Regions from separate parts of the Homo sapiens genome. Here region 1 is linked to region 2. Evidence: promoter capture Hi-C in 16 types of primary human blood cells and fetal thymus (Javierre and others, 2016). All regions are on one chromosome and are shown on one strand. The core of a region is centred on a gene start or on the middle of the fragment in contact, and the rest is flanking DNA. Distances in the headings are between cores, read along the strand shown. Region 1 overlaps TRAPPC12 (trafficking protein particle complex subunit 12). Region 2 holds the start of ALLC (allantoicase).

Region 1 (3,318 bases), core at 728-3,227, 220 kb before region 2:
ATACATTGTTGGATTTGGTTGCTAATTTTTTGTTGACTTCAGTTTTCTTAGATTTAGTTTGCTAATTTTGTTGAAGATTTTTGCATTTATGTTCATGAGACATATTGGTCTACAGTTTTTTTTTCTTGTAACGTCTTTGTCTGGTTTTGGTATTAGGGTAATGCCAGACTCATATAAGAAGTTAGAAAGCGTTCCTCTGCTTCTGTTTTCTGAAAGAGATTGTAGAGAACTGGTAGCATTTCTTCCATAAATGTTAGGTGGAATTCACAGTGAGACCATCTGGGTCTGGGGCTTGCTTTTTGGAAAGGTTTTTCTTTTTCTATCCAAGTTACCAAATGTATGGACATAGAGCTGTTCATAATATTCCTTTACTATTCTTTTACTGTTCATAGGATCCATAGTAATAGTCCTTCACTTCTAGTACTAGTTGTTTATGTCTTCTCTGTTTTTTGACTAGCCTGGGGAGAGACTTATTGGTCTTGTCAGAGTTTTATTGGTCTTGTCAAAGAATATGTTTTTGGTTTGGTTGATTTTGTCTATTGATTTCCTGTTTTCAGTTTCACTGATTTCTGCTCTAATTTTTATTATTATATTTTTATTATTTTCTTATTATAATACAATAATATTTTTATTATTTTCTTATAATAAAATATTTTATTTTCTTATAATAAAATAATATTTTTATTATTTTCTTCTCTACTGCTTACTTTAGGCTTATATTGCTCTTTCTTTCCTTCTAGTTTTCAAAGGTGAAGCTGGTTTCAGATCTTTCTTTTCCAATATATGCATTTAATGCTAAAAAGCTTCCTCTCAGCACTGCTTTTGCTGCATCCCACAAATTTTGATAAGTTGTATTTTTATTTTCACTTAGTTCAAAATATTTTCACATGTGCTTTTACATCCAGAAGCACCCCCATGTCCATGGGCAGTTGTCAGGATAAGGGGCAGCTAACTTTCTGCCACCTTCTCAGGTGAAGTGGCAGGAGTCACACAGCCTGTTTTCTCACCATCCACCAAACTGTATTCCAGATCGGAGTATTAACAGCTAGTCTATAAATTGAGATCGGAGTATTAACAGCTAGTCTGTACGTTGAGATCGGAGTATTAACAGCTAGTCTGTACGTTGAGATCGGAGTATTAACAGCTAGTCTGTAAACTGAGATCGGAGTATTAACAGCTAGTCCCAAGTTGGGTTTGAGAACTTCCAGTAGAGGTTTGTTTCTGTGCTTATCTTATAGAGCTTGAAGGGTTCTTGAGATATTCTCTCCCTTGTGGTAAGTGATAAACCACACAGGAGTGATTCTGGCCCCTTCTCTACTTGAGACAGAAGGATGGAAGTGACGTGGCTTACATATAACTTACCATGTTGGGCCGGTTCCACAGTGACATGACTTACATATGACTTAATTGTAGGCCAGTCCCCTGTGTCATTATGCGGATGGTCTAGAAATGTTTATTTCTAGAAAACCGAAGTGACTCAGGCTGTAACTTAAGCTCGGCCAGATATTCTCTTGAGATACAGAAATTATTTAGTGGCATCAAAAAAGAAAGTTTAAACATTTTAAGTTCAATAATTGTTACCTTTCTTTTCTCCAGGCTTATAATCACAATAGAACTGTTTTCCATAGTGTTCCTTAATTTTGACTGTCTTCTTTTTGGACCTTTGTTATTAAAGACCATAAACATAAAGCTCATTTCAGTGTGGTCACGGCCCATTCTCAGTAATGGTTAATGAATAGACAGATGGATGCATTGAGGCACAGATACATTAAGTGGCTTGCAGAAGTCATACGCGTGTTTTCTCACCATCTTTCAGACTATATTCCAGATCCGAATATTCATCGCTTAGGCCTATTTTGAAAAGCACTTTACTGAATCTATGTGATTGCCCTCTGGCATTTCTCTATTCTTTATCTCATTTATAATCAGTGCACGCTATTTGATTTTTTGATGATTGTTATCTACTTAGTATACATACTACAGATCAAATTCCAAATCCTATTAGAAGAGAACACAATATTAACAAAAAGTTGACCTTACCCTGAGAGATGATGCAGCCACAGGTGATACGATATAAAGGGGGTTTCTCCTGAGCTTCTTCCTCTTCTTAGCGCACGCAAAGCCAGGCAGCTCTGGGTGATGGATTTTTCAAGTCCAGCTCCCTTGCCTCCTGTCAGAGGTGGAACGCAGGCTCCAGGGCCACATGGAATCCAGTGGGAGGCCCATCCCCAGGGCCGAGGCCTGAGACGCACCTGTGCTCAGTTTCGCCTCCTCCCCACTGGTTTTCCCGGGAGCACTTCCGGAACCACTGGCTGGCTTACGGCTTCTCCCTTCAGGGTCTCCTTCTGGGGAACCCAAGCTAAGCAACCTACCATTCGAGCTTGCTAAACTAAAGAAATATTAAAGAATATCTGAGCATTCTGGTTTTTCTTTTATTGGAGGAGGGGTTGGCGGTCTCTACTGTTTCATTCATTTTGGGATCATTTCTAAATGATTGCAGTGTAGCTTTGGAAATTGTGGTGTCATCCACCTGTCTCCTCTGATAATTGTCGAGACATACATACATAGAGCTCCATAGAGAAAACCAGCATGTATTTTATAGTTGACACCGTTAAATACTTCACAAGAAATAAAGGGATCTGTCATCACTTCTGCTGGGACATCTGCGACGCCTCCTTCAAGTGTGCCAAGTATGAATGCGTGCTCAGTTATGGCAAACAAACTCACTCAGCACTGATTGGATTCCAGGCTCCATGGTCCCCTTCTCGATGCGCATCTTGCACGCGGAGCTTCAGCAGTACCTGGGGAACCCACAGGAGTCGCTGGATAGACTGCACAAGGTGAAGACTGTCTGCAGCAAGGTAGGTGGCGCTGTCATTCTTCCCTGCCACGGGGAGAACATGCCCTCCACGCCCTCCCCACAGGACATGCCCGTGCTGTTCCCTGCCCGTCCTGCCCCATGCACCATCGCTGCTTCTGCCTTCAGAAGGCTAGGTGACCCGGTTTGTGTGGCCTGGTAGTCGTGTCTCTTGCTGAAATCTTTTTTAGGGATGGTAAGAGTTTCTAGCAGAGCTTGAGTCCTGTAATTCTTACTGCCTGGTACTATGGGAAGCTGAAAGGCAGAGACATCTTTCTTGCCAAGGCTGCCAGCTGAAGCTTCAAGGTCAGTGTGCCAGACCACCCCTGTGTCCCACAAGTGCCCACACGCACCTGCCACGTGCAGACAGAGGTACCGGAGCAGTACTGAAAGCAATCATGGTTTAAGCTTTCAAATCCAAGTAAGTGCTTCTGCATTATGGCAACTGTCACTCATGATCC
Region 2 (3,384 bases), core at 885-3,384:
ATCAGGTCCCCACCTAGTGAGCGGGACACCCACTTCAGCCAGGGGCTGCGCAGGGGTCGGGAGGAGCCCGTCCAGGCAGCCAGCACCTCCATCATCGCAGGCTGATCTCCTTGCCTCCTGGGAGCCCAGGGAGGCCGGGGATGGCGGCATTATTCTGAGGGTGCTCCAGCCCTTTCCATGAGAATCCTCATGTCTTGGCAGGACCAAGGCAGGAGGGTTGAAGCCCCTACGGAGCTCCGAGAACAGCCTCACGTCTGGCTCAGGCCACTGCTCTGGGACCACCTCTCTGCCAGCTCTTGTTCTCCTCCCGCCCCACAGATGGGTCCACAGGACGTCTGCTGTGCCACGATGGAAAGTTCTGTAGCTGTGCAGCCCAGCCTGTCGCCTCTGCCGCATGTGGCTGTTGGGCACTAGAAACTTACCTCATAAGACAGAGCATCCAAACTTTTAACTTCACTAAATTAAGTTGATTTTAGCGTTAGAGAAGTATTGAATTTAGCATAGCTAGTGGCTGCCACGTCGGATGGGGCAGCTAGCTGGCAGAGCCCTGTGCTCAACCTCTGGCCATGGCCCAGCAGCCCCAGCATCGCCCTGGAGCTTGGAGAAATCTCAAGCCTCAGGCCGTATCTCAAATCTGCAGCGTCAGAATCTGCACTTTAACCAGCTCGTAGGTGATTTGGAAGCACATTAGATTGTAGGAGCCAGCTCGGTGTGGAGGGCAGAGGTCAGGGTGTGGAGGGCAGGGGTCAGGGTGTGGAGGGCAGAGGTCAGGGTGTGGAGGGCAGGGGTCAGGGTGCCTTCTTCCATGGCTTTATCGGTGCCACAGCCTAGGCTTAGCGAAACCACGAGGATAAAAATAGGCCCTTCTGTTCTCCGCACCGTGAGCTTTGTGACTGATCCGAGGCGGCGAGCGGGGGCACTGCACTGCTGTGGCGGGGAAGTCACGGCTGACAAGAACTGCCAGGGACGAAGCCACGTGCATTAATTCATTAAAATACAGTCAGCTATGGAAGGCAGCATAGGATGTGGTTTCGTTCTTAAAGAATTTCATCTGGATGGGCAGACAGATGTGTAAACATGGACTCAAAGGCCGGGCGAGCTGAGATCAGACAACAGGCGCTGGACGCATCCTAACTACGGCTGGGTGGCGGGGCTGAGAGACGGGCTGGGGTTGGGGGTGGGGTTCTCAGTTGGAGGTGGCCTTGAGCCGGCCTTTCAAATGGCTTTGCTTTCCTCTGGGAAAGCTGGAGTTCAGGAGGAGAAGGCCGGTCAGGCCCTGGGGAAAGAAAACCCAGGAAGGAAAAAGGAGCGTGTGGGTGATGGATCTCCCTGGGACGCAGGTTGTCTTTCTGGAGCCCCAAGGGCCCCTGTGCGCGCCATCTGCTGTGCTGGGTTCTGGTTCCAGCTCAGTCCCTCCCTGCGCAGGTGACCTCGGGTGGCTTTCCTGCCTTCAAGGCCCCAGCTGATTCATCTGCAGAGTGGATAGCTTGCCCCGCAGGGTGGCTGTGGTGAAGCAAGGCAACGTCTGTTACTGCATGTCGAAGCCGGGCTCAGCTGTTTCTTTCTGCATGGAAAGTTCTTCTGCAGACAGTGGGGCCTTTGAAGGCAGGCGGCACGTGTTGTTTTGTATGCCACAGGCCTAGCATCCACTTGGCAAGGTGCCCTTTCTTAAGCATCTGTGGGCTTCTTTAAATTCCATGAAAATTTTGTGTGTATTTACTTTTTCTGGGGCTGAGGGGCTCTAGCCAAACCCTCCCAAGGGCCCCTGTCTTCTCTAGTAGGTCAGGACCCACTGCTGGGTGTGCTCAGTGTTTTCTGAGTTAATGATGATTAGTGAATAGGTGACGTCTAGAGATAAAACTTTAAGTCAGGTTACTGGCCGGACCAGGAAGGTGGGGGTTTCAGGCCCAGGCCAGTGGCCGGAGGCAGCTTTGTTAGGGACAGGGAAGGGCCCTGGGACCAGCAGGGACCATGTCTGGCTTCGGGCCTTGTGCGAGGGTCTTGCAGAGGCCTGCTTGGCTTCTCCGGGGAGGGGCTGCTCCCCCTGTTACTTCCACCTCTCTGCAACCCTTGTGACATCATACAGGCACAGCCAATCTCTGCAAAGTTCTGTCTCTACCTCAGGCCCCTATACATTCTCTCTGAGCTGGCACTCAAGCACCGTGGGACCTTGGCTGGCTTCTGGGGAGCAAGAGATCCATTTATGAATACTTGATTTCTGACTGCTGGGTGAGCTGGAGTGTGGTTTATAAATACCTTGCTATCTTTAAGGTGGGCTTTGCCAAAAGAATAGGGTGACAGAGATGAATTTCAGTCATGCAACGAACCCTCGACACTTGGAAGGTGACAGAGGGTAGATGGTGACAGACACCACTTTGTGCCGTTGAACTGTGTTGGTACCGGGCGTGGCCCAAACACCTGGAGGGGCCCCACAGGTGGGTCAGGCTTCTGGGCTCTGGTCACTGCTCTGTTTGGTTTCAAATCATGTGACTTTGGCCTTCTTAAAAAAAAATCTAAAGAGGCTGGGCATGGTGGCTCATGCCTGTAATCCCTGTACTTTGGGAGGCCGAGGTGGGTGGATTGCTTGAGTTGAGGAGTTTGAGACCAGCCTGAACAACATGGCAAGACCCCATTTCTACCAAAAATCAAAAAAATAGCCAGGCATGGTGGTGCGTGCCTGTGGTCCCAGCTACTTGGGAGGCTGACATGGGAGAATTGCTTGAGCCCGGGATGGGATTGGGGTGGAGGTTGCAATGAGCCAAGATCATGCCACTGTACTCCAGCCTGGATGACAGAGTGAGACCCTGTCTCAAAAAAAAAAAAAAAAAAACCTAAACAACTAAGGCCATGGTGAAGTAAACCTATATTCAAAACAAGAGTCACAAAGTAGAACTAAATGTAAATATATACCAAGAGTTGCCGGTAGTCAGGAGTCTCGTGCAGTTGACCTTGGGCTGCTCAGAGTCCCTGCTCAAGGTCACTCTAATTTTGTCCCAAATTTGAACAAACCACTTTTATTATTTCACCATAAATCTCATACTTTTGGCCAAAGGCTTCTTCGGAACTTATTGACAGCGATGACAAAGCCCCTGAAGGTTTTCTTCTTTACGAGGGAGTAACTCTTCCATCAGCACAGCCTTCCCTGCTTGTCAGAGGGAGGTCTCTCTTTCTTGTGCTTCCTAGACTTGCCTGGTCATGCCTTTTCTTATTTTAAGGCTAATCTCAAAAGAAAAAATAGTGTGAGCACCACTTGACTGCCTGAAATTTCATGACTCTATTTTAGAGAGTCATTGCCTCATCGCCTTGCCGTAACCCATGACAATGCTCCTCATTTGCGGTGATTAAGTTGAAATTTGCAGGTAAAACTTTAGCATGTTCCTCAAA

The links. Contacts are between HindIII fragments. The CHiCAGO score rates a contact against its expected background, and 5 or more counts as called.
Region 1: a contact is called between a fragment that was not itself captured here and the fragment with the promoter of ALLC in region 2, in 3 of 17 cell types (activated CD4 T cells, total CD8 T cells and naive CD8 T cells). The highest score is 7.7, in activated CD4 T cells.

What each region holds. Positions count from the first base shown.
Region 1 is chr2:3,441,031-3,444,348 of GRCh38, forward strand. It overlaps TRAPPC12 (trafficking protein particle complex subunit 12), which reads left to right. Exons shown (of 12, transcript NM_016030.6): 6 at 2,749-2,861. Among named protein-coding and RNA genes, the nearest start is that of TRAPPC12-AS1, 41 kb to the right of the region's middle. The HindIII fragment of the contact is 2,353 bases long and covers 802-3,154 here.
Region 2 is chr2:3,656,066-3,659,449 of GRCh38, forward strand. It overlaps ALLC (allantoicase), which reads left to right and starts at 2,135. Exons shown (of 12, transcript NM_018436.4): 1 at 2,135-2,229. The HindIII fragment of the contact is 6,896 bases long and covers 1-3,384 here.